7 separate regions of the Homo sapiens genome follow, and regions 2, 3, 4, 5, 6 and 7 are each linked to region 1. Evidence: promoter capture Hi-C in 16 types of primary human blood cells and fetal thymus (Javierre and others, 2016). All regions are on one chromosome and are shown on one strand. The core of a region is centred on a gene start or on the middle of the fragment in contact, and the rest is flanking DNA. Distances in the headings are between cores, read along the strand shown.

Region 1 (3,744 bases), core at 838-3,337:
TCCTCCCCCAAAAAAGTTTTAAATTTGCCTTCTGACATGGACTTTGAACAAACAGTAATCCAAACTGCATGGCTTCATCCAAGAATCTAGGCGCAGGTTAGCCTTTATAGTTCAAGAAACTGGGGTGTAGAAAAGTTTGTTGTCAGATGAGTTGGAGACGATCTTAAGTCCCATCCAGTTCTAATAGTCTAAGCTTTTAGAATCCAAGGAGTTGACTCTTTTGACAACCTAGGAATTTTGAAATCTGCTTTACTTCAAGCTGTACTGAAGCCTTACCCAAATTTGGGGGAGTGAAAGGAGGGAAGGGGAGAAAGCCAGACAAATGGTCAAATCAGAGAAGAGAATGACAGAAGACTGGCCAAAATTAGCCTATCCATAATAACTCTATCCCGAGATCATCAAGAACTTTATCTGGGCCAAGGAGTTTATCCTCCATTCTGAAAAGAGGAAATACAACGTAATAGCAAGAAAATATAGACAGAGCCTGAGGAAAAAAATAAGTTATCCTTCACTGCTCTGGCAAAGCAACTAGTAGGCCTTCCTAAGAAAGCAGTGGGGCCTGCCCAAAAGTGTTCTGGAGGTCACAGAACTGCCCTGTGTCAGTGTCTCAACTCTAGGCTGTGACCCCGAACGAGTTACTAATAACCTCTCACTCCTTTCTCCTCACCTGAAAAAGAGGATCCCACACGTGTCCTGTAAGGTTGCTGTGGGGATTGGAAATAATATGTTAAAGGGCCTGTCCTTAAAAACCATCCTATAAGTGATACCACGCTGTGATCTGAAAAGCTCATCTGAACCTTTTATCCTTTTCAATTCATATCATGTAATCCTTCTGTCTAGACTGCACATAAGAATTACAAGTAAGTCTGAAAAGCTCTGGCTCCTTCCTTAAAGAACTCTATCCTCTCGCTTTCCCTAAAGTGGAAGAATCTCTGAGTGATATGAGGAAAGGATTAGCAAGCCAAAAGGGGCAGGTGCCACCCAGCCCCATCTTACAAGAAACTGGACTGTCAGCGCTCTGAGGGCAGGGACTGCTCTGTTTAAACCACGACTGCACACACATTTTCCTAAAGCAAGCTAATTGCAGACTTAAGCCTCTCCGAACAGCTTACATGACACCCAAACATGGACCCACAATACATTTTGTGTCGCACAACATCAAGTCACACAAAAATCTCAAAATTATACATTACAATACAATTTAATTGTGCTGTGGTATTAAAGTCAAAGACAAAGGCTTTAAACCGAGTGCCTATGAGGTAACCACAGTAAAGTCACACCTTTAATAATAAGGGACCAAGAACACACGGGATGGCAACAGGGAGTGAGTGTCCAGCAGAGCCCTAGACGGAACTGGCGCAACCGCTCCAGATCGGAATTCGAACCCAGAACTTCTGGCGAAGGCCATGTAAGAACTACTCCAAGGAGGAAGAGGCCTTTACGGCCAGGTGCACCTTGCTGGAACTTTCTGCCGGAGGGGACCCCCTCCCCTCGGCCTGGGCCCCAAGCCCCAAGGGCGGCCGCGTGACGCGGTGGGAAGGACGAGGGTCGCCAGCCCCTTCTGCTCCGCACTGGGGTAGGGGCTCGGCGCTGTCTCGGAGAAAGGCCAGGCTCCTTCCAGTCAGGGAATAATGACAGCTCGCGCGCTCGCAGCCCGCCCCGCCCCGCCTCACCAGGCCCGCAGGCGGCTCCTCCCGCCCGGCTGAGGGGTCCGGCCGCGCCCCCTCCTCTCCCCGCCCTGGCCCGGGGTGCCCCCCGCCCGCACCGCCAGCCTCACCGGGTCGGAGCTGGAGGCCGCCGTCGCGGCGGCTGCACCACAGCGCGCGCTCGCCCTGCTGCAGGATGTAGTGGTCCTTGGCTTGGAAGAGCTCCATGCTGGCCCCGCGCGCCCAGGGAGGCGGCGGCCCGCGGGCGGCGCACGGGGCGTCCTAGTCGGTCGAGGCCGCCAGAGCCCGCGCCTCGGGGAGCGGCCGGGTAGGAACCGCGCCGAGAAGCAGCGGCAGAGGGAACGCCCCGGGGCACCCGACCGGTAGGAGGAGAACGCGCCCCGGCAGCGGCGGCGGCAGCGGCGGCCGTAGAGGCCTCTCCCCCCCGCTCCTCCCCTTCCCTGGCTCCGCCCCAGGCCCGGCTCCACCCCCTCTGCTGGCTACTCTCCCCGAGCGCCCGGCTCCGCCCCTCAGCCTCCTCCTCCTTTCAGCTCCCTCCCGCTTCCTGCCCTTTCCTCCGCCTTCTCCCGGGTGTCTCCTCCCAGCTCCTCCCCGCGGGTCTTTCCTCCTCCCTCTCGTCCTTCCGCCCGCCCCTCCCGCTCTTGCCCAGGCCCCTCCCCCGGCGCGCCAGCCTTCCTGTCGTGGTCACCGGTGGCAGCTCGGGAGCTCGGCCGAGTCGGTCTGGACTGACCGCCTCCCTCCGCGCGGCCTTGGGGACAGGCGCCCACCGCTGGGGCCTCCCCTCCGTGCAGGGAGGCGCTCACGCTTCGCCAGGCCGAGACCTGAATCCAACCCCACACCCGCTCTCCCGGAGCGGTGCGGGGTACGTTCCCCGCGGGCCTGCGCTGCCTGCCCGTACCGAAACCAGGCGAGACCCCGGGGCCTGGCTACAGGGGTTCATCCCCAGCCAGGCCCACAGCCAAGCGGAGGCGTCTTCTGTTTTCGTATTCCCTATTAGAAGTTTGACAACAGGAGGCATTCAATAAATGCACATCAACGAGGGAAAGCATGTAACAATAGAAAACACACAAGCATTAGCAGCACGCGGCTAAAGAGCGAGGAGGAAGGGAGGAATGTACAGGTGCTGCTGTGTCCCGAATTAAGCAGGGCGGTTTGGAGAAGACTTCACAAATGGAGCCAGTTAATGAAGCAAGCGGAAGGAATATCGTTTGGCGAGGATAAGATGAATGGAGACCCTCTCGGGGAAGGAGGAGTCTCCCCCAAACATCCTTGAGCTCAGTCTGTCTTGAAAAACCAGTTGATATCCTGAACAGAATGGGTCTGGAGAATGAGGCCCCCACTTCCGGGGCCAGTTCGAGGACTATCTAGCTGTGTGATCTTGGGGAAGTCTCTTGGTCTCAGATGGTGGTTGAACTAATGACCTTTTATGACACCCCCAGTTCTATAAATCATTGAGTCTTCCTACTCCTAACTCCTTGCCTTCTCTAATGCCTGAATCGGAAACAAGAGAAAAAGACAAGAAGTAGGAGATGAGAAAAATAAGGCAATACTTTTTTTTTTTTTTTTTTTAGTTTAGGAGCGGAAGTTTATAGGCAAAAGAAAAGGGAGAACAGCTGTCTCTCTTGCGAGAGAGAGGAGTGACCGAATGGGACTTCTCAGAAAGCAATACTTTTAACCTTCTGCTCAAGTAAAAGTGAGAGGGTACAAAAGCAGGAAGGAGTTCCACATGACTAGTTATTCCAGCCCACAGTGTTGAATTTCCATAGCACAGAAAGTCCAATGATAACAAAGCGTCCTGGAATCTTTTCTAAGTACCATGCCTCTGTGCTGTCCAGACACCTCAACATAAAGGTCGAGGGAGGTGGTTACTCTATCAAATCTTTGTGATGTGATTTGGAGAAAGAAGGTAATGAAGCTATAAGAAGCTTCAGTGGAACCATCGGTTTCAGATTGATTGTTTAATTCAGCCATGTGTTGACTTAGCAAAAATGAGAATGAGAAAATCCTATGAAGACATTGTATCCTGCAAATTATTTCATTATTGTTTTATGAATTACATTGCCAGATGTGAAGAAAA
Region 2 (3,744 bases), core at 572-3,071, 1.0 Mb after region 1:
TTACCAGGGTCTATACCACAATTAGGAAGCACCCCAGCAGTTTTGAAATAACCACAGTTTATAGCACATGCTGGGGTGTGCTTTGGGCTTGGATATTGTTCTTCACAACTTGTGGTCTGAGATAGCTTAGTTTTTTTGTGTTTTTTTTCCCCAAACAGTTGTTGCACTAAGTAGCATTTTGTTTTCTGTTTCAAATGATAGAGCTGTGTTTTGTCATAGTCAGATATATACTTTTCTTGTTGTTAGTATAAATTTCTTTCTTCATCTTTTTGCCGCTAACTATAAAATCTTTATTCATTTAACACATATGTTTAGTGCTTAGGCATTGTGTATAAATTGTTGATGAAACCCTAGATCTATGCTTTATAGCTTTTGAGTGATTTGCTTTCTAATTCTTCACTCCACCATCTACCTGAATTTCTACCTGAATCCAGTTTATGGACTTCGGGTCTCGCTGTGGACTCTGTCACACACTTCTGTTCATTTGCCAGTACCCTAGTCAGGTTCATCATCATTTCTCGACTGTTTTACTGAAATGCTTATCTCAACTGCCTTACTTCATTGATACACCTTAATTTAACCAGTTTTTGATTGATGAATATTTAGGTTACTTCCAGTCTTTGGCCATTACTAACAGTGCTGAAGTGAATAGTCAGTCTTGTAAGTAATGTCGTTTACTAAGTCTAAATTGTGGTTCACAGAAGTTGTATCAAGTTGCATTCCCATCAGTTCTGTATATATCACAGTGTCTGTTTTCCCTCACCCTACTAATACAGCCTATTATGAAACCAAATAATTTTTAGTTTTATATTAATATAGTAATGATTCTTATTAATGATTAAAACATAAATCAGAGTGATATTTCTTCTGATGTTAGTGTTTTTTTTTTTTTTAATTTTTTTGAGATGGGGGTCTCGCTCTGTCTCCCAGGCTGGAGTGCAGTGGTACAATCATGGCTTACTGCAGCTTTGACCTCCCTGGGCTCAGGCGATCCTCCCACCCCAGCCTCCCCAGTTGCTGGCACTACAGGTGCATGCCACCATGCCTGGCAAATTTTTTATGTTTTTTGCTTTAGAGATGGGGTTTTGCCGTGTTGCTCATGCTGGTCTCAAACTCCTGGACTCAAGCGATCTGCCAGCCTCGGCCTCCCAAAGTACTAGGATTACAGGTGTGAACCACTGTGCCCAGCGTGATGTTAGTATTTTTTAAAAGGGTGATATATGATATAAAACCAGGGAATTTAGTTTGTTTTTAGAATCAATACATGTCCCACTTAGAGTTCAGCAATATGGTCTTATGAAAAGTCTAGCTTCAAAATGATTCCTTTTATAAGATTATAACGATTGTAACCATTATTAAATAGCAGCGGGGAGTGGTTTAAAACATGGGGATCCAGGGCTCTGTTTCCAGCTCTGTCACTCAGCATTTGTGTGTTTGCCTCTTTATTAAACGTGCTAATATATATCATCTTATAAATTTTCTTGACATTAAAATGAAGTAGATTTACTAGACTATCTCGTTGCTTCACACTAAGGTGTAAGGTATTTTCTCGACATCAAAAGGAAGTAGATTTACTAAAATATCTGTAGTTCTTTACACTAAGGTGTAAGGTATTTTTTCTTCTGCTTCCTGCCTGGCAAATGCTTCTTCATTCTTTTCTTAGGCTTAAGCTCATTTGTGTCCATCTGTGTAAAGCCTTCCTGGAACTCCTGCACTCCTCTCAAAACCGAACAGACTATTGGCATTTCTTCTGTGGATCCATAGCATCTCAGCAATAAGAAGTCTATTAGGGCAGTGATTGTGTTATTGTTTCTGCTTCCCTGTCTGACTACTTCACAGGCCCTTCCTTGAGGGGGAGGGACTCTATCGTGTTTGTCTTTTTATCCTTAGTGTCTGCCACAATTACAACTCAGCAGATGTGTTCTGGCTGAATGCTGAGTAACTAAATGTGACCTGTACTAATGGAAAGAGTAGCATAATTAGCTTCAGATGACCACTACTCCTGTGCTCTCTAGATTTGTAAGCATTTTATTTATTTGTTCAGTGTGATGTGTGTGGCCTGATGTAATCTTTATTTTATAGAGACCTTAAGGCAGTTTTCATGGGGACAGATCAAGAGACGGTGCCAGGCTTTATGAGCCAGAAACATTTTATTTGGATGGAGCATTTTGTTTGCAGCTCTGGTTTTCATAATGAAATATTGTTGTTATGAGCCAAAATAAGAGCGTGGGAGGAGTTGCATTTGGCAGATAATCAGAAATTTAGTGCTGGAGTTGATAAATCAATGATTTGGACCTACAGGGCGTCAGCCTCAGTCAAGGGCATCTTAAAATAGCTGTGGGTTTGTATAGTTTATATGTCAGAGGGACTTATTTATTTTTATCCCAAGGCATATCCTGTTGGGGAGATTGAAGAGTATATAAAATAATGTTCCCATATTCTCCAGTTATTTTTGGTGTTGACGTAAAAACTAGAGAACATGGTTTTTAGAGATTTTAGAATAATTTGTTGAATGTAAATATTTTTTACATGACAGCATAATCTAACTTGCTGCCTCTTTTTTGTTTTTAAACACATTTCTTTCATTTTGGAAAAAATTACTTTACTTCAGGCACTTTAAAGTTTTTTTTGTTGTGTTGTTAAACTAATAAAACAAATAGCTAAGTCCCCTTAGTGTTCTCCTTACTATTATATTTCACTGCATGTGTATCTATACATTTTAACTTACTGCTGGATTGTTCAAAATTGTGAACAGTATCTTTTGCCTTAATTTTTTTAAACCAGGCTCTTTTCTCGTCCTTATTAACTCCGCTCTTCTTATTTATTTATGAGACAGTGTCTCAGTCTGTTACCTAGACTAGAGTGCAGTGGTGTGATGCTGGCTCACTGCAGCCTTGACCTCCTGGGCTCAAATGATCCTCCGGCCTCAGCACCCCAAGTAGCTGGGACTACAGGTGTGCACCACCATGCCTAGCTAATTTTTGTATTTCTTGTAGAGGTGGGGTTTTACCATGTTGCCCAGGCTGGTGTTGAACTTCTGGACTCAAGTGATCTTCCTGCCTTGGCCTCCCAAAGTGCTGGTATTACAGACATGGGACACCACTCCCGGCTGTTCTTTCTTTAAAAGTAATAACGAAGTTCTATTTATTTTTATTTTTCTGTATCTCCAGAGCCTCAAAATGTACATTTCCAATTCTGGTATTTTCCTATACCAGTGAATGGAAATAGATGACTATAGAGAGTAAATTGGTTTACCAATTCAGTAAATAATATTCTGAATAGTTTTGGAAAATTCTATGGAAACATTTAGAAATTACCATATTTTTTGTGAGAGACCAGGACCCTAACATTAGGACCTACACTTGCCTGTTGGATTTGAATTTCATCTTATAGATACCTCATACTGAGGTCTAAATCTAAATTTCTCTTCATTCAAATTAGTTTCTTTCTGAGGCTTGGTATTTCATATTCCTCTTAGCTTTTTCTCTCCTATTTCTGGGTGCTAGTTAAGGTGGATGGAATACTATAATATATCTTGCTCTGTCCTCTTTGATTCCCATTGTTGTCTTCCTCTTCCACGTCATCATTGGCTCATGCCTGCACTAGTGGAATATTCTTTTAATTGGTTTGTCTTCCTGCAGTCTCTTCTTTTGGCTGAACAACCTAAAAACCCTAATTTGATAGACATACTTTCTTGTTCAAAAATCTAAAATACTATTTATTGCTTTCCTTAATTAATCACAG
Region 3 (3,744 bases), core at 329-2,828, 700 kb after region 1:
ACAGGTTTAAGCAGAAACATCCCATTTCCCCTAGTCACCACTGGGTAAGGGGAGGGCTGGTGACCCATTCTCACCCTGGAGATCTCAGCGGACATCTGCTGTCTGCTGGGAGGATACTGGGAAGGGGTTTGCTTCCTTATATAAAAAGGGGGAAGAAATAAAGAACCAGGGCCCTCACCTTCTTCAGCTCAGGCTATAGAGCTGAGGTGATAAGGCTTAAGGACACAAAGCTGGCGCAAGGTGATGGCTTACCAGAAAAGTTAAAACAAAAAACAAACCTTAGTGATATTTTTGTTGATGACTTGGTGACTTGTTACACGAGATAATTATAACATCTCTATTATTTCAGCCACTTCAAGTCAGGTATCCTTTTATTTATTTATTTATTTGAAACAGTGTCTCACTCTGTCACCCAGGCTGGAGTGCAGTGGCATGATCTCGGCTCACTGCAACCTCCACCTCCCAGGTTCAAGCGATTCTGGTGCCCCAGCCTCCCGAGTGGCTGGGATTACAGGCATGCACCACGATGCCCAGCTAATTTTTGTATTTTTAGTAGAGACAGGGTTTCACCATGTTAGCCAGGCTGGTCTTGAACTCCTGACCTCAGGTGATCCACCTGCCTTGGCCTCCCAAAGTGCTGGGATTACAGACGTGAGCCACCACACCACGTCCAGGTATCCTTTTATACGTGCAGTTGACTTCATTCTTAATCAAGCTTGTCCAACCTGTGGCCAGGTGGCCTCATGTGGCCCAGGACAGCTTTGAATGCGGCCCAATACAAATTTGTAAACTTTCTTAAAACATTATGAGATTATGCACAGACCTTTTTTAATTAAGCCCTTCAGCTGTCATTAGTGTGTTTTATGTGTGGTCCAAGACAGTTCTTCCATTGCGGTCCAGGGAAGCCAAAACATTGGACACCCTTGTTCTAAATGAAACATGTAATACTGTGAAAAAAAATACATTTGGTTATTCTGTCGAAAAGGTAGGCTACCATATTCTGGCCAGGTGGAGGTGACGACCATGTCAGAATTCTCTGTGTGTGGACAAGGCTGGAAGGGGATGCGGAGAATGGGAAACGGGTGCCGTGGTGTCATCTCACACCCCCTGCCTTGGGCTAAAGTCTCCCAGCTGGTAATAATACCACCACCATCAGCACCAGGTGCTTGACATGCACTATTCCATGTGCCCCCCACCCCCAACCCTGCCCCGCAAGGCAGGTGCGCTGGTGACCTGTTGGAGACGGGGGCAAAGCTCAGCATGGAGCCCAAGGCTGAGAAGCTCAGGAGCAGCAGGACTGAGATTTGCACCCATTTTTCTCTCACTCCCCGAACCTGGGTTTGTGCCTCCTTGGATGCACCCGGTCATTCTTGGGACTTCTGGGGTCCAGATGTGCGGGAGACTGGCCAGCAACACACAGCGGCAGGGGCAGGAGAGGACACATTCCAGTCCGTGTCAGCAATGTCCCCTGAACAAAACCAACCCCATTTAAAAGCAGTCTGGGTGTTTCTGTTTATCCAGTAGTGGGTACTTTGGTAAAGTGAGTAATCCTTTCTCCCTCCAGCACTTGCCCTCCTCCCTGCCATGTGGTTTTCTTTTAGAAATCTGGAGTGTCCCAATTTTGTTTAAAGCAGGAGCTGCCTGGAGGCTGACAGGCGGAAGGGCAGATGTCCCTGGGCTGATGATGCTGATAATAGCAATAACAGTAGCTCACAGGTGCTGAGCCCTTACCGTGCACTAAGCATTCACTCATATCATTTCTGAAATCCTCCCAGCAGGCCTACAATGATAAGCATTTCACAAAAGGGAAAATGAGGTTTTGGGAGGCTAAAAGCATGCCCAGCAGCTCACAGCTAGCTGGTAGGTGGCATTTCTTCAAGGCCCGCACTGTTAACCCTCACACCTCCTTGATCATCCCCTGGCCCGTGGATACTCATTCATTTGGAATTCACTACATCCGGCCTCCCCACCTCCTCCTGTGCTTCCCTAAATGGGGCCATCAGCCTTCTCTCACCCGTCGTCAATCCCTGCTGTCTGCAGGGGGAGGGAAGTAAAAAGCTGACAGGAAGGAGTTACATGTAAAATGGTAACCTGTAGATTGAGACTGTTCTCCAACAGGTCTGAGGGCTCTAGGCAGAGGGAGGGGAAGCGGGGATATGAGGGCTGTGGAAAGGATGGGACCAGACTGCCAAGCAAAGAATGCTATGTGTGGTTCTGCAGGTTGTGTACAGTTCTGCAGGTTGTGTACTGCACAACCGCTTCCCATCTAAGGGGGCACCTTTACTTCATAGACATAGTAACTCTGTGATCATTTTCTGGCCGACCTTGAGTAAAGTATCTTCTAACGAAATCAGTATATTATGACACTTCACTGACAGATGGAAAAAGATACCTTGTGGAAGAAGTGTCTTTTCCTAATTTGCTCAAAGCCCAAAGCTTTGGCTCTGGCCGAGGTGTGAAATGCTGAGCTTCTTGAAGGCGGGCCTCAAGTTTGACATTAGTACCCCTTTTCTTGTTTCCCCATTCTGAAGCTTCAGGTGGAGAGTCTCCTGAATTCAGCTGATCAGGTGCTGGGCACAGTTCTGCCCTGGTTGTTACTGGTGGATCAGCTGCCCCTTGGGACTAACATTTAACTTTATTTTTGAGACAGTCTTGCTCTGTCGCCCAGGCTGGAATGCAGTGGCACGAGCTTGGCTCACTGCAACCTCTGCCTCCTGGGTTCAAGCGATTCTTCTGTCTCAGCCTCCTGAGTAGCTGGGACTACAGGCATGCACCACCACGCCTGGCTAATTTTCATATTTTTAGTAGAGATGGGGTTTTGCCATGTTGCTCAGGTTGGTCTAGAACTCCTGGGCTCAAGCAGTCCGCCCGCCTCACCCTCCCAAAGTGCTGGGATTACAGGCGTGAGCCACCTCGCTGGGCCGGGACTAACATTTTAAAGATTGCTCAAGTCATTTTAGCCATCTTCTTCTGGTCTTATCTGATTTGCACTGATCCTCTCCCAGCCGTCCTGAGTTCTCCAGGGATTTTGTGTGCTCGGAGCTGCCTCTCCACAGTTGTGTCTGTCTTCAGGCTTCTACGGCTTAGTGACCAGAAGGCAGGTGGGCCCCAGGGAGCGGATGGAGGATCCAAGCTCTGTATAAATTGAGTAGCCTCGAGCAAAATCAGTTCCTGTCTCTGGATCTTAGTTTTAAATTTCAGTTTAAAATAATTGGGCTGGCCTAAGTGATTTCTTGGCCCTTTCCATCTCTAAAATTCATTTATTTACCATCAAGGTCTGGGGATAAGTGGCAAATAAGACTGACGTACTTCTGACCTCATGGAGCTTACACTCGAATTGGGCAGACAGACAAGTAAACAGGCGATGACACTTGGTGGGGGCAGGTTCGCTTCCTGTTGCGGTTGTAACAAATTACCACCCATATAGTGGCTGAAAACAACACACTGATTTTCTCAGCGCTCTAGATGTCAGAAGTCCACAGTGGGTCTCACTGGGCTGAATTCCCTCTGGAGGCTCTTGGCGGGGAACCTGTTTCCTTACCTTTCCCAGCGTCTGGAGGCTGCCTGCCATTCCTGTGGTTCGTGGCCTTTCCCTTCTCAAAACCCAGGGATAGCAGGTAGCTGAGTCCTTTCCACGTGGCACCTCTTTGTTCTTTCTTCTGTCTCCCTCCTCCACCTTCCAGGACCCTGGTGGTCCCACTGGGTTCACTGGGATAATGCAGAATGTGCAGAATGATCTCCCAA
Region 4 (3,744 bases), core at 671-3,170, 680 kb after region 1:
CACCTGCCTCGGCCTTCCAAACTGCTGGGATTACAGGCGTGAGCCACCGCGCCCGGCCCATCAGAGTACTTTGAATAGAGAAGTACTGTTAATTTAACCACCCCCATTAGACATTAAATAAAATGTCTCCACCTTTCTTTGCTTCGTAGGCACTGTGATGTCCATTTCAGGGCATGTGGCTTTTTTCACATTCTTCAAAGGGGATTTCTAGGTTGAAGGAAATCTGTAGAGGTGTATGTTCCCAGGTTGCTTTCCAGCACAGTGTTATATCGGTTTGTAAGGCCACCTACAATATATGAGACTACCAGTTTCCCTGTAGCGTCAGTCTGATCTCAGATTAAAAAATAAATGAAATTTTAAAACTTGCTTATTTAAGGGCTTCATATTGTTATAAGTACAAAAAATATTTGAATGGTAATACCAGTAGTTGTAATAGTAAATGGTTACCAATGTAATGCTTCTTTTTCACTTTGTCAATGGAGGACTCTCGTTGGGGAGATAGAGATTCAGAAGGCACCTGGAGAAAAGGACCTGAAGCAGATTCTGAGTGGAGAAGAGGCCCGCCAGAGAAGTAAGTAGAGTTGAGGAAAATAATGCCGCTCCAGTTCCTGTTAATATCTTATCAGTGGTTTTAAAATTTGGTTCATTTTGTAGAGGCAGGGAAAGGAGAGCCATGAAGAATTGTGTGCATGTCTGATTGCGTGTGGGTTTGTATTTTGTTTTTTTGGGTCTGCTGCCCAGGCTGGGGTGCAGTGGCGCTATCTCGGCTCCCTGCAACCTCTGCCTCCTGGGTTCAAGTGCCTCAGCCTCTCGAATAGCTGGGATTACAGGTGTGTGCCACCACACCTGGCTACTTTTTGTATTTTTAGTAGAGATGGGGTTTTGCCATGTTGCCCAAGCTGGCTTTGACCTCTTGACCTCAAGCGATCTGACTGTCTCAGCCTCTCAAATTGCTGGGATGACAGGCATGAGCCACTGCACTTGGCCTGTGTTGTTGTTTTTGTTGTTGTTGTTGTTGTTTTGAGATGGCGTCTCACTCTGGAGTGCAGTGGCGCGATCTCGGCTCACTACAGCCTCAACCTCCCTGGGCTTAGGTGATCCTCCTGCCTCAGCCTCCTGAGTAGCTGGGACCACAGGTGCGCTCCACCATGCCTGGTTAATTTTGTTTGTTTGTTTCTTTGTTTTTGAGACAGAATCTAGCTCTGTCACCCAGGCTGGAGTGCAGTGGCGCGTTCTCGGCTCACTGCAGCCTCCGCCTCCTGGGTTGAAGCAATTCTTGTGCCTCCCAAGTAGCTGGGAGGCACTTGTAATCCTCCCAAGTAGGATTACAGACATGCACCACCACGCCTGGCTAATTTTTGCATTTTTAGTAGACCCGAGGTTTCACTATGTTGGCCAGGCTGGTCTTGAACTCCTGACCTCAAGAAATCTGCCTGCCTCGGCCTCCCAAAGTGCTGGGATTACAGGTGTGGGCCACTACGCCTGGTGAATTTTTATATTCTTTATAGTGATGGGGTTTTGACATGTTGCCCAGGCTAGTCTCAAACTCCTGGGCTCAAGCAATCCTCCCGCCTTGGCCTTCCAAAGTGCTGGGATTACAGGTGTGAGCGACTGTGCCCAGCCGCATGTCTTACAATTAAGTAGAGATGGGTTTTGCCAGGCCAGGCTGGTCTTGAACTCCTGACCTCAGGTGATCTGCCTGCCTCTGCTTCCCAGAGTGCTGGGATTAAAGGTGCGAGCCACTGCTCCGGCCCATACTGAAGTTTTTAAAAAGCATGTGAAAAAAAAAATCCCCAAAGGATCATATGCTTTTTTATTTTATATATTTTTAATTGTTCTTGTTGCTGTGTAGGGAGTGGAGACGTGGAGAAGGGCGAGATGAGGACAGGTCTCATAGAAGAGATGAAGAGCGGCCCCGGCGTCTGGGGGATGATGAAGATAGAGAGCCCTCTCTTAGACCAGACGATGATCGGGTTCCCCGGCGTGGCATGGATGATGACAGAGGCCCTAGACGTGGTCCTGAGGAAGATAGGTTCTCTCGTCGTGGGGCAGACGATGACCGGCCTTCCTGGCGTAACACAGATGATGACAGGCCTCCCAGACGAATTGCCGATGAAGACAGGGGAAACTGGCGTCATGCGGATGATGACAGACCACCTAGACGAGGACTGGATGAGGACAGAGGAAGCTGGCGAACAGCTGATGAGGACAGAGGACCAAGACGTGGGATGGATGATGACCGGGGGCCGAGGCGAGGAGGCGCTGATGATGAGCGATCATCCTGGCGTAATGCTGATGATGACCGGGGTCCCAGGCGAGGGTTGGATGATGATCGGGGTCCCAGGCGAGGCATGGATGATGACCGGGGTCCCAGGCGAGGCATGGATGATGACCGGGGTCCCAGGCGAGGCATGGATGATGACCGGGGTCCCAGGCGAGGGTTGGATGATGATCGAGGACCTTGGAGGAACGCCGATGATGACAGAATTCCCAGGCGTGGTGCAGAGGATGACAGGGGCCCTTGGAGAAACATGGATGATGATCGCCTTTCAAGACGTGCTGATGATGATCGGTTTCCCAGACGGGGTGATGACTCAAGACCTGGTCCTTGGAGACCATTAGTCAAGCCAGGTAAAATTCTATTTCCTAGAATATGCTTAAGTGTTCACCTGTAAAAGTGAAATTCTGATGGATAAATATCAGGGCTGTATTGTTATTTTCCAGATAAACTGGTCTTTCATCTTTCCTTCAGTATCATTTGCAGTGACTTCGCTGTCAAAAGTTTGCCTTCAGAATACCACCATCCAAAACATAAATAACCCAACCCCTCTCTTCTTTAGTGATGTGCTCTTTGTTTTCCTTCTGCTTCGATGACTGCTTCTTTGAAGGCTCTTCCTGTACTCATGCTTTCAGTATTGGTGTATTTTTCAGGTTTTACTGGGAACCAGCCTCCTTTTAAAAATAAATAATTGAAACCAAAATGTACTTTATATATTTATTTTTGCCAACTGAGAGATTATGCAAGGAGGAACTCATTTTACTTTACTTTTTTTGAGACAGGGTCTTGCTCTGTTGCACAGGCTGGAATGCAGTGGTGCAGTCATGGCTCACTGCAACCTTGACCTCCCGGACCCTAGGGAGCCTCCCACTTCAGCCTTCTGAGTAGCTAGGACTACAGGCGCATGCCACCACACCCTGCTAATATTTTATTTTTTGGAGAGACGGGGTTTCGCTATGTTGCCCAGGCTGGTCTCAAACTCCTGGGCCCAAGTTATCCTTCTGCCTCTCCCTCCCAAAGTGAAGTGCTGGGATAACGGGTGTGAGGCGCTGCGCCCAGCCTCATTTTTTTTCTTAGTCCTGGGCCTGCTTATTGTTTCACACTTTATTATTCGTGAGCAGTTGTATACATGTTTGTGACATGCGTCTATTACCATTTTTTTTCTTTTTGAGGTGGAGTCTTGCTCTGTCTCCCAGGCTGGAGTGCAGTGGTATGATCTCAGCTCACTGCAACCTCTGCCTCCCAGGTTCAAGCAATTCTCCTGCCTCAGCTTCCCAAGTAGCTGGGACTACAGGCACATGCCACCATGCATGGCTAATTTTTTTTTTTTTTTTTTTTTTTGGAGACGGAGTCTCGCTCTGTCATCTGGCTGGAGTGCAGTGGCGCGATCTCCCCTCACTGCAAGTTCTGCCTCCCAGGTTCATGCCCTTCTCCTGCCTCAGCCTCCTGAGTAGCTGGGACAACAG
Region 5 (3,744 bases), core at 593-3,092, 630 kb after region 1:
GGCCTGGAGTGCAATAGCGCGATCTCGGCTCACTGCAACCTCCGCCTCTCGGTTTTAAGGGATTCTCCTGCCTCAGCCTCCTGCGTAGCTGGGATTACAGGCGTGAGCCACTGCGCCTGTTTTTTTCTTTTTTCTTTCTTTTTTTTTTGGAGACAGTTTCTCGCTATGTTGCCCAGGCTGCAATTTATACATTGGAGTATATTTAGGTGTGTATATGGCATTCCTGTTTCTCTCACTAAACTGAACCCCTGGAAGGCAGCACCCTGAACTACGTGCCCTTCTATTCTCTGGGCTTCCTGTTGTAGTATAACTGTTAATGTGTCTAGTTTTCACAGAAAAGAAGCAGGTGTTTAGAGGCTGAGGAGTGGGACACAGATGTGGAATCAGTTTGGAAGCCAACTAGAAACTTGCACTAGGTGGGGCACGGTGGCTCACGCCTGTAATCCTAGCACTTTGGGAGGCTGAGGTGGGTGGATCACGAGGTCAGGAGATTGAGACCAACCCGGCTAAAACGGTGAAACCCTGTCTCTACTAAAAATACAAAAAATTAGCCGGGCGTGGTGGCAGGTGCCTGTAGTCCCAGCTACTTGTGAGGCTGAGGCAGGAGAATGGCGTGAACCCGGGAGGCGGAGCTTGCAGTGAGCCGAGATCACGCCACTGCACTCCAGCCTGGGCGACAGAGCGAGACTCCATCTCAAAAACAAACAAACAAAAAATCACAAAAATTAGCTAGGCATGGTGGCAGGTGCCTGTAATCCCAGCTACTCAGGAAGCTGAGGCAGACTGGCTTGAACCCAAGAGAGGACGGTTGCAGTGAGCCAAGATCGCGCCACTGCATTCCAGCCTGGGCGACAGAGTGAGACTCCATCTCAGAAAAAAAAAGAAAAGAAATGAGGATGAAGACGATGATGAACAGATAATTAAACAAAGGAGAGGGAGATGATAGTGGGTGCAGGGAGGGGAAAGATAATGAGGGGTGTGTCCAGGCTCCAGTGAGTGGGATGATACCTGGAATTGACACCTCCTTCCCTCCTGTTTCTCCACAAGTGCTGTCTTACCTGCCAGACAGGTACACCAGAGTGAAGGGAAAAGGAATAGAGGGTGGAGAGAGCAGAGGCGACGCATCCCCAATCTTTAAAAGTAAGACTGACCTCTGCGCTGTCACAGACAGATGGAGCTGGGGTGTGGAAACAGACAACCTGAGTTCCAACCCCCTTGCCCATCTTAGCTGCGAAACCTCACACATGTTTCCTATCTTTTCTGTGCATGTTTTCTCAGTGATCAAATGGAGCTAACCATACTTTCCTCCGTGACTCTCCCAATAAAGATTTGAATCAGGGAAAATCTTTATGCTAGTTTTATTGATAAGAATAGCCTAATTTTATAGGTAAGAATATAAAGGGTCCCCAAGACCACCCCCCAAATTCAATGATTTGTTGGAAGGATTCTCAGGATTCAGCATATAGCTATACTCATGGCTATGATATACATTTTTATTTTTTTGAGACAGGGTCTCACTCTGTCACCCAGGCTGGAGTGCAGTGGCACGATCACGGCTCACTGCAGCTTTGATCCAGGCTCAAGCTATCCTCCCACCTCATCCTCCTGAGTAGCTGGGACTACAGGCAGGCACCACCATGCCTAGCTATTTTTTTTTTTTTTTTTTTGAGATGTGATCTCACCATATTGTGTAGGCTGATCTCAAGCTTCTGACCTCAAGCGATCTGCCCACCTCAGGCTCCAAAGTGCTGGGGTTACACATGTGAACCACCATCCCCAGCTCAGGGCTATGATTTATTACAGCCAGAGAATACAAAGCAAAATCAGCAAAGGGAAAAGGCACATGGGGTGATGTCTGGAGGAAACCAGGGCCAAGTTCCCAAGAGTTATTTCCTGGTAGAGTCACACAGGACACACCTAATTCCTCCAGCAACAAGTTGTGGCAATACTTGTGATATTTATCAACCAGGGAAGCTTGTTAGAACTCAGTCACCAAGTAACTCAGTTTTTACTGGGGGCCAGTCACATAGGTACCCTCTGCCTAGCTCATACCAGATTTCCAGACTCTCATGAACCACATTGTATGTACAAATAGTTCAGGCATAGTCTGTCACTCTGATCAGTTTGATCAGTTCTAGAAATGCTGGGAACACTGCCGAAGTCCAAGTTTCCAGGCACAGCCAAGGGCCAAACTGGCCAGCAGACTTTCTATGGATATCACCCTCAGGCCTGTCGTGTGAATTCTTTTTTGCACAGCCTGCTCACTCCTTGCTCTGCAGAAAAAGAGTAAGTTACTGGCACTGAAGCAGATTTGGAAAGTGCCTAAACTGTCTGGCCACATGGACAAGTGCACAAGGGACCCCAGCATCTTCCAGGTGTTCCAATCCCAGGTTCCTATGAGTCAAATATGGTTCTTTTTCATCTTTGTTTCTGTAATTGGATTCCATCATAGATTGGGCATGTGTCAGCCAAGGGAGCCATTAGGGTGGCAGTTTTTTTTTGTTGTTGTTGTTTTGTTTGTTTGTTTGTTTTGATGGAGTCTTGCTCTGTCGCAATGCAGTGATGCAATCTCAGCTCACTGCAACTTCCGCCTCCTGGGTTCAAGCAATTCTCCTGTCTCAGCCTCCTGAGTAGCTGGGACTACAGGCGCAGGCCACCACACCCGGCTAATTTTTGTATTTTTAGTAGAGACAGGGTTTCACCATATTGGTCAGACTGGTCTCGAACTCCTGACCTCAGGTGATCCACCCACCTCAGCCTCCCAAAGTGCTGGGATTACAGGTGTGAGCTACTGTGCCCAGCCTTTTTTTTTTTCTGAGACGGAGTCTTGCTCTGTCACCCAGGCTGGAGTGCAGTGGTGTGATCTCCACTAACTGCAACCTCCGCCTCCCAGGCTCAAGCAATTCTCCTGCCTCAGCCTCCCAAGTAGCTGGGACTACAGGTGTGTGCCACCAAGCCTGGTTAATTTTTTTTTATTTTTAGTAGAGATGGGGTTTCACCATGTTGGCCAGGCTAGTCTGAAACTCTTGGCCTCAAGTGATCCATCCGCCTTGGCCTCCCAAAGTGCTGGGATTACAGGTGTGATCCACCACGCCTGGCCAAGCTCTTTTAATTTAAGGGATTCAGTCTCACTTGGGAACTGGAAGGCGATTCAGTCAACTGCTCTGACACTCCGTCCTGACTTCTAGCATATGTGAGGCTTCCAGAACATTCCCAAGATGAAGTCATCCTCCTTGTGTTCTCAATGGTTTCAGGATGCTGGGTAGCTCTCCGGCCCTAAGAAGCCCAGGTTTCGAGCTGTGTTGCATTATTCTTTTTTCTTTCTTTCTTTCTATTTATTTATTCATTTATCTATTGAGACAGGGTCTTGCTCTGTCACCCAAGCTGGGGTGCAGTCGTTCAATCACAGCTTGCTGCAGACTTGACCTTCCAGGCTCAAGCAATTCTCCCACCTCAGCCTCCCGAGTAGCTGGGACCATAGGTTTGTGCCACCATGCCCAGCAATTTTTTAAAACTTTTTGTAGAGATGGGGTCTCCTTATGTTGCCCAGTATGGCCTTGAACTCCTAGGCTCAGGCAATCCTCCTGCATCAGCCTCCAGAGTAGCTGGGACTATAGGCATGAGCCACGATGCCCGGCTAATTTTTATTTTTATTTTTATTTTATTTTTGTAGAGATGGGAGTCTCACTATGTTGCCCAGGCTGGTTTTGAACTCCTGGCCTTAAGACATCCTCCCACCTCAGC
Region 6 (3,403 bases), core at 818-3,317, 560 kb after region 1:
TCAAACAAATCTTCCACGTGATGGAGGACAGACTGGCTAAACTGGTCACATCCTGGGTGACAAGAGTGAAACTCCATCTTTAAAAAAAAAAAAAGAAGAAAGAAAATGTAATAAAATTAGAAGCAAATATAACCAGATGTTTACAGTTGTTAATTCTGGGTGAGGGGATTATAGTGTGTAGCCATTCTTTGTAATTTTTGTATTTATTTTTTCTCAAATTAAGAAATGGAGGCTGGCTGTGGTGGCTCATGTCTATAATCCCAGCACTTTGAGAATCTGAGATGGGAGGATCTCTCGAGAATAAGAATTTGAGACCAGCCTGGGCAATGTAGCGAGACCCTATCTGTACAAATAAAAATAGAAAGTTAGCCAGGTGTAGTGGGTTGTGCCTGTAGTCGCAACTATTTGGGAGGCTGAGGCAAGAGGATCACTTAAGCCCAGAAGTTTAAGGCTGCAGTGAGCTATGATCACACCACTGCACTCCAGCCTGGGCAACAGAGTGAGACCCTGTCTCTTAAAAAACAATAAGAAAAGAAAGAAAGAAAAAGAGAGGAAATAAGACTGAACTGATAAGACATGGAAGTGGGTGAGGGAGAAGGACTTCTAGGTTTCTGACATGTATAGCCAGGGGATGGTGGTAACCATTCAGTGCGACAGTTGACATCAGAGAGTGGGGGAGGTGACAGCACCATTGGGGGCAGCTGCTGGAGCATCTAGGAAGAGGAAGGCATAAATCTGAATGGCACTCAGGGCTATCCTAATGGATAGAGAGCCTAGGGCACCATGTGGCTTGAAATCAGGCATGCAGTCGAAGTCCAGTGCATGCTGGTGAGTGAGCTGGTGATTCCTACCTCTGGGGATAAACCTGAACAATGTTGAGATCATTACTTGATTACTTGATATCTGATTTTAGGAAAGTATAGAAAACTCGAGGCAACTATTGTGCACAAATGAAGATGTTTCCAGCCCTGCCTCGGCGGACCAAAGGGTATGTTTCACGTGCTCAGGTCTGGCTGGTTGCCCTCAGATGGTTCTGCCTGCATGGTCTGAAGTCAGGTGGAATTTGGCCATTAATCTCTGTCTCCGTCTCTTTTCTTTCTTTTTTCCTTCCCTTGGGAGCCACTGTTCTATTGGCTATTAATGCTGTCATTGTTATATACTGCCCAGAGGACCAGCTTTGCAAAACTGGGTTAGTTTTTTAAATGTAGTTAGAATTCTGTCCCATAAACCAGACAGCAAGTTTCCTCCTACACAGTGGATATTTGTGGGGATTCCCTGCAGCTGATTCCTGGAGCCCAGTGGCAAACCCCAGAATTCAGACAGGGCTCTGACGTCAGAATTCATTCTCCACTGCAGGCAGCGTTCCTGCCGATAGGCTCAAACGGACTGTTCCTTATCTACCTTGCAGTATGTGGGGCTTTCTGGAGCTCACAAACACCAGCTCCTCAAGACAGCCTATGGAGAGCTCACATATTTAACTTTTTCTAAGAATGTGCTGGGGACCCTGGGCTGACAGCTTGGCTCTGTTGCAAGTAACTTGACTGATGGCATGGTGTGTCATCAGCACACAGCCTGCTCTGCTCTGAGCCAGAGGCAAGCCGGATTCGGGGACTCATCTGAGGGATAAGTTAGGTGTTGGTATTCTCCAAGGGTAGAGACAGGACTTTTTAATGTTCTGGTCCATTTCTCTGTGTGGCTCGTCTCTTTGCTTGTCATTAGTTCATTTGTTTATTCATATGATCCATTTATTTTGATTTGTTCTGTCAATGTGGTAAATAACAGCTCTGGCCTTCACTCTCTGAAAGGTAGAACAAATGTGGTCCCAGAAATGAGACAGGCAAAGAAATTCTTTGCTGTTGAGCCACCTTTAAAAGCTTTTTTTTTTTTTTTGTTTTTTTTTGTTGTTGTTGTTGTTTTTTTAAGGCTGGGTGTGATGGCTTAACCCTGTAATTCCAATGGTTTGGGAGGATGACTTGATGCCAAGACTGCAAGACCAGCCTGGGCCGTATAGCAAGACCCCATCTCTACTAAAAATTAAACAACTAGTTGGGAATGGTGGCGTGAGCCTGTAGTTTCAGCTATTCAGGAGGGTGAGGTGGGAGGATCGTTTGAACCCAGTAGTTCGAGGCTGTTCTGCAGTGAGTGATGATTGTGCCACTATACCCCAGCCCTGGGTGACAGAGCAAGACCTTGTCTCTTAAAAAAAATTTAAAATGAAACAAAGCTATTCTTTTTTCTCCTTTAAGATACAAGAAGCTTGGAAGCGGAGTCTTGTAAGTTTCAGCCCCTTCCTAATTTTTAGTGTCCTATAATAACAAAACCAGACATCCAGCTAACCTTGCATCTCTCCTTTTGAAGGCAACAGTGCATCCCGACAGCAGCAACCTGATCCCCAAGCTTTTTCGACCTGCAGGTGAGTTGGTTCTAATTTTCAGAAGTGGGTTGGGAAGATGTAGTTTCTAACACTTAGAAAACTCTGCCTGCCGGATCACCTGGGGTCAGGAGTTCGAGACCAGCCTGGCCAACATGGTGAAACCCCGTCTCTACTAAAAATGTAAAAAATTAGTTGGGCATTGTGGTGGCACGTGCCTGTAGTCCCAGTTACTCAGGAGGCTGAGGCAGGAGAATTGCTTGAACTTGAACCCGGGAGCCGGAGGTTGCAGTGAGCTGAGATCATGCCATTGCGCTCCAGCCTGGGCAACAAGAGTGAAACTCCGTGTCCAAAAAAAAAAAAAAAAAGAAAAGAAAACTCTGCCTGCCTTGCTTTAATTATTTCTCCCCCAGCAGGATTTCTTTCTTTTTTTTTTTTTTTGAAACAGTGTCTTGCTCTGTCACCTAGGCTGGAGTTCAGTGGCACAATCTCGGCTCACTACAACCTCCGCCTCCCAGGTTCAAGTGATTTCTCCTGCCTCAGCCTCCTGAGTAGCTGGGATTACAGGTGCCTGCCACCATGCCCAGCTAATTTTTTTCCTTTGTGTATTTTTAGTAGAGACAGGGTTTCACTATGTTGGCCAGGCTGGTCTCGAACTCCTGACCTTCTGATCCGCCCACTTGGCCTCCCAAAGTGCTGGAATTACAGGCGTGAGCCACTGTGCCTGGCCATGTTATAGTAATTTTATGTACATACTTTATTATTATTGTCATTTTTAGAGACAGGGTCTCGCTCTGTTACCCAGGCTGGAGTACAGTAGCACCATAATAGCTCAAAGCAGCCTCCAACTCCCAGGCTCAGCTGATCCTTCTACCTCAGCCTCCTGAGTAGCTGGGACTACAGGGTCATGCCGCCACACCTGGCTTTAAATTTTTTATGGAGGTGGGGGTCTCGCTACCTCTACAAAATAGAGGCTGGTCTCGAACTCCTGGCCTCAACCCATCCTCCAGCCTCAGCCTACCAAAGTGCTGA
Region 7 (3,744 bases), core at 328-2,827, 520 kb after region 1:
TCAGGAGATCGAGACCATCCTGGCTAACAGTGAAACCCTGTCTCTACTAAAAATACAAAAAAAAAATAGCCGGGCGTGGTGTTGGGCTCCTGTAGTCCCAGCTATTCAGGAGGCTGAGGCAGGAGAATGGCGTGAACCCGGGAGACGGAGGTTGCAATGAGCCGAGATCGCGCCACTGCACTCCAGCCTGGGCGACAGAGCGAGACTCCGAACCAAAAAAAAAAAAAAAAAAAAAAAACAATTTTCTCAAAGGTTGTTTTTGTTTGTTTTTTTGTTTTGTTTTGTTTTGAGACAGTTACTCTGTCACCCAGGCTGGAGTGCAGTGGCCCAATCTCGGCTCACTGCAACCTCGGCCTCCCAGGTTCAAATGATTCTTGTACTTCAGCCTCCCAAGTAGCTGGGATTACAGGTGTGTGCCACCATGACTGGCTAATTTTTGTATTTTGAGTAGAGACGGGGTTTCGCCATAATGGCCAGGCTGGTCTTGAACTCCTGGACTCAAGTGATCCAACCCGCCTCTGCCTCCCAAAGTGCTGGAATTACAGGCATAAGCCACCATGCCTGGCTCAAAGTTTCATGAGCATACAAATCACGGGGGATCTTGTTAAAATGCAGATTGCATTTGGATAGATCTGGGGTGGTTTCTGAGATGTTGCTCTTTCTAACAAACTCCAGGGCTCTGTCGATCCTCGTGGTCAGTAGACCACACTCAGAGTTGAAAAGCTTTCTAGTTTACCGTAACTCCCTATTGTCTTATACCCAGCCCAAGTCACTAGTGATTTTATTTATCTGGCCTGTATAGACATTTAAGTTTTCCATCCTGGGAACCCCTGCCTCTCCCTCTCATTTTACAGATGTGAAACAGACCCAAAGTAAGTGAGTTGGCATGGTCACTCAGCAAGTTAGTGTTAGACTATTTTTTTGTCCACTACAAGCTGTTGCATCCTGCCTACACAAATACATGGTTGTACATCAGGTTTTTGTGCCTCTATGAGGAAATTCAGACACTCCAATGCAAGAATGGAACAATAATGGCTAGCATTTACTCAACACCAACTGTGGGCCAGGCTCTTGTGGTCTTTTAAATGGATTATCTCCTTGAACACAATATCCAGATGAGGTAGGGAACACAGGCCTATTTTATAGATAAAGCACCAGGTTAAGAAAGGTTTTATAGGCCGGGCACGGTGGCTCACGCCTGTAATCCCAACACTTTGGGAGGCCAAGGCAGGCAGATCACCTGAGGTCAGGAGTTCGAGACCAGCCTAACATGGTAAAACCCCGTCTCTACTAAAAATACAAAAATTAGCTGGGTGTAGTGGCAGGTGCCTTGTAATCCCAGCTACTCGGGAGGCTGAGGTAGGAGAATGACTTGAACCCGGGAGCCAGAGGTTGCAGTGAGCCAAGATCATGCCATTGCACTCCAGCCTGGGCAACAGAGTGAGACTTTTTTTTTTTCCTCAAAAAAAAAGAAAGGTTTTATAATTTGTCCAGGGTCACATAAGTAATAAGTAGAAGACCCGGGATTTGAACCTGTCAGCCTGACTCAGAGTTGGTGCACTTAATTTCTGGCTTGCGCAAGCTAGCCAGCACAGCTTGGTAGTAACTGTTCTGTGTGGCTGCCGGGATGAACTTGTATTATAAGAAGGCAAAGCACCCAGTTGACTAAATCATTAAGATTTCAAGGGGTTTTCCATTTTCATCTATAATTCCACCATTATGGCTTTATTCCTTTCAATTAACTGCACTAACAACTCGTGGTCTTCTTGAAAAATGGGTTTGATTCAAGGAAGAGTAGGCTATTAAATATAAATAGCTAAGTAGGGAATCATTGACAGCCAGCTGAGAGCAAGAAGGGAAATCCAAATGGAGGAGTGGGGGTGAGGATGGAGGGATGGGAATATGTCAAAGACAGCCAGCTTCAGACTCCACTCAGGAGCAGCTGAGCCAAAAATGCAAAAGAAGTCAGATGCAGTGGCTCATGCCTACAATCCCAGCACTTTTAGAGGCTAAAGCAAGGGTGCAGGGGATGGGGGGGTGGAGATCGCTTGAGCCCAGGAGTTCGAGACCAACCTAGGCAACATAGCGAGACCCTGTCTCTACGAAATAAACCTAAAAATTAGCCAGGTATGGTGGCACTGAGCTATGATCGCCCCACTGCACTCCAGCTTGGGTAACAGAGTAAGACTGTCTCTAAAAAATAAAAAAGCAAAAGAAACAGGGAACCTTCAAATTCTTCTCTCAGCACCTGTATCTGCCATGAATAAAGCTGCTGGGTCAGAGTTCTTGTAAATAGAAGTCTACTATGCTGGAAAGCCACAAACCTATCGGCCTTCTAAAATATAGATTCCTTTTGCCTGAATAATCAAATTGGCTTTCTGAATAGTCCAGGAACTGGAGTTTCCATTCCTTTCCTTGACTCAAAGCTTTTTAATCCTCAGGAAGCAGCTGCAGATAGAGCTTCCATTCTCTCATTTATCCTCTTCTCCTTCAGAGTTTACCTTTCTGTGTCCAGCCCTGCAGGGAGTTCAAGGCAATTTCCCAGGGAGCTCGCCACTGGGAAGGAAAACACACCGGATGCAAACAACCTCCATACAATGGAATAAGGGCCATTGTGGAGACACACACAAAGGACTTTGCAAACGGGAAGAAGTGATTTCAGGCACCAAAAGAGGAGAAATGTGAGCTGAAAGCAAATCTGGAGGCTTGAGGTTTCCAGTTAACATTTCCTCCCCTCTGAATTCCCTTCATCAATGGACCTCAGTGGTTATCAATTGGACATTAAAAGTTTTACTATGGGCAGGGCACAGTGGTTCACGTCTGTAATCCCAGCACTTTGGGAGGCCAAGGTGGGCAGATTACCTGAGGTCAGGAGGTCGAGAACAGCCTGGCCAACATGGTGAGACCCGTCTCTTCTAAAAATACAAAAACTAACCAGGTATGGCAGCGTGCGCCTGTAGTCCCAGCTACTCAGAAGGCTGAGGCACGAGAATCACTTGAACCCGTGAGGCAGAAGTTGCAGTGAGCCGAGATGGTGCCGCTGTGCTCCAGCCTGGGCGACAGAGCGAGACTCTGTTTCAAAAAAAAAAAGAAAAAGTTTTAACATGTTGTAAACTGCCTATTGCTCTTCTAGTGACTTCATATTTTTCTTTTTTTTTTTTTTTTTTGAGATGGAGTCTCGCTCCGTTGCCCAGGCTACAGTGCAGTGGCATGATCTCGGCTCACTGCAAACTTTGCCTCCTGGGTTCAAGCGATTCTCCTGCCTCAGCCTCCCGAGTAGCTGGGATTACAGGTGCGCACCACCACACCTGGCTAATTTTTGTATTTTTAGTAGAGGTGGGGTTTCACTATGTTGACCAGGCTGGTCTTGAACTCCTGACCTCAAGTGATCCACCCACCTCGGCCTCCCAAAATGCTGGGATTACAGGTGTGAGCCACCATGCCCGGCCAATATTTTTCTTTAAAGTCAGCTCACTTTGAAAACTTTAATTCATCCTAACCAATAATATTTGTGAAATGTGAGGAGTAGTAGAAGTGTCATGCTTGAGAAAACCAATCTCCAAGCAACACGTGGTGTCTTTGCAGCCTTTGGTTTCCAGATGAACTGGCCAATCTTAATGAATCGATTGGTTTTGCCAGGTGATTATTACCTATACACATCTAACCACCTAGCTTGGTCACAAGATTTTGTGGGATCATTTGTCTTGCATCAATTCTCAACTGCAAGTTCAGAAAAGAAGATTC

Evidence for each region. The method cuts DNA at HindIII sites, captures the fragments that hold promoters and counts their contacts. A CHiCAGO score of 5 or more calls a contact.
Region 2: a fragment that was not itself captured here is called in contact with the fragment with the promoter of INPP5F in region 1 in 1 of 17 cell types (neutrophils); the score reaches 11.6 in neutrophils.
Region 3: a contact is called between a fragment that was not itself captured here and the fragment with the promoter of INPP5F in region 1, in 1 of 17 cell types (total CD8 T cells). The highest score is 7.0, in total CD8 T cells.
Region 4: a contact is called between a fragment that was not itself captured here and the fragment with the promoter of INPP5F in region 1, in 2 of 17 cell types (total CD4 T cells and non-activated CD4 T cells). The highest score is 7.0, in total CD4 T cells.
Region 5: a contact is called between a fragment that was not itself captured here and the fragment with the promoter of INPP5F in region 1, in 5 of 17 cell types (fetal thymus, non-activated CD4 T cells, activated CD4 T cells and 2 more). The highest score is 13.1, in fetal thymus.
Region 6: a fragment that was not itself captured here is called in contact with the fragment with the promoter of INPP5F in region 1 in 1 of 17 cell types (fetal thymus); the score reaches 6.1 in fetal thymus.
Region 7: a fragment that was not itself captured here is called in contact with the fragment with the promoter of INPP5F in region 1 in 2 of 17 cell types (fetal thymus and total CD8 T cells); the score reaches 5.8 in fetal thymus.

What each region holds. Positions count from the first base shown.
Region 1 is chr10:119,724,393-119,728,136 of GRCh38, reverse strand. INPP5F (inositol polyphosphate-5-phosphatase F) reads right to left here and starts at 2,087. Exons shown (of 20, transcript NM_014937.4): 1 at 1,778-2,087. The coding sequence starts at 1,874. RefSeq lists a silencer at 1,659-2,428 and an enhancer at 3,039-3,088. The HindIII fragment of the contact is 3,399 bases long and covers 196-3,594 here.
Region 2 is chr10:118,724,553-118,728,296 of GRCh38, reverse strand. The region is part of intron 3 of CACUL1 (CDK2 associated cullin domain 1); the gene reads left to right. Among named protein-coding and RNA genes, the nearest start is that of CACUL1, 29 kb to the left of the region's middle. The HindIII fragment of the contact is 5,468 bases long and covers 1-3,744 here.
Region 3 is chr10:119,021,276-119,025,019 of GRCh38, reverse strand. The region is part of intron 2 of LINC03036 (long intergenic non-protein coding RNA 3036); the gene reads left to right. Among named protein-coding and RNA genes, the nearest start is that of LINC03036, 6.4 kb to the left of the region's middle. RefSeq lists enhancers at 1-242, 1,428-2,070, 2,071-2,713. The HindIII fragment of the contact is 1,721 bases long and covers 718-2,438 here.
Region 4 is chr10:119,040,881-119,044,624 of GRCh38, reverse strand. It overlaps EIF3A (eukaryotic translation initiation factor 3 subunit A), which reads left to right. Exons shown (of 22, transcript NM_003750.4): 18 at 483-571; 19 at 1,853-2,631. Among named protein-coding and RNA genes, the nearest start is that of NANOS1, 13 kb to the right of the region's middle. The HindIII fragment of the contact is 5,604 bases long and covers 1-3,744 here.
Region 5 is chr10:119,099,056-119,102,799 of GRCh38, reverse strand. No RefSeq gene overlaps it. Among named protein-coding and RNA genes, the nearest start is that of DENND10, 3.2 kb to the left of the region's middle. The HindIII fragment of the contact is 268 bases long and covers 1,709-1,976 here.
Region 6 is chr10:119,159,925-119,163,327 of GRCh38, reverse strand. It overlaps SFXN4 (sideroflexin 4), which reads left to right. Exons shown (of 14, transcript NM_213649.2): 3 at 914-988; 4 at 2,247-2,273; 5 at 2,359-2,413. Among named protein-coding and RNA genes, the nearest start is that of SFXN4, 4.1 kb to the left of the region's middle. The HindIII fragment of the contact is 382 bases long and covers 1,877-2,258 here.
Region 7 is chr10:119,201,933-119,205,676 of GRCh38, reverse strand. No RefSeq gene overlaps it. Among named protein-coding and RNA genes, the nearest start is that of GRK5, 3.8 kb to the left of the region's middle. The HindIII fragment of the contact is 1,703 bases long and covers 726-2,428 here.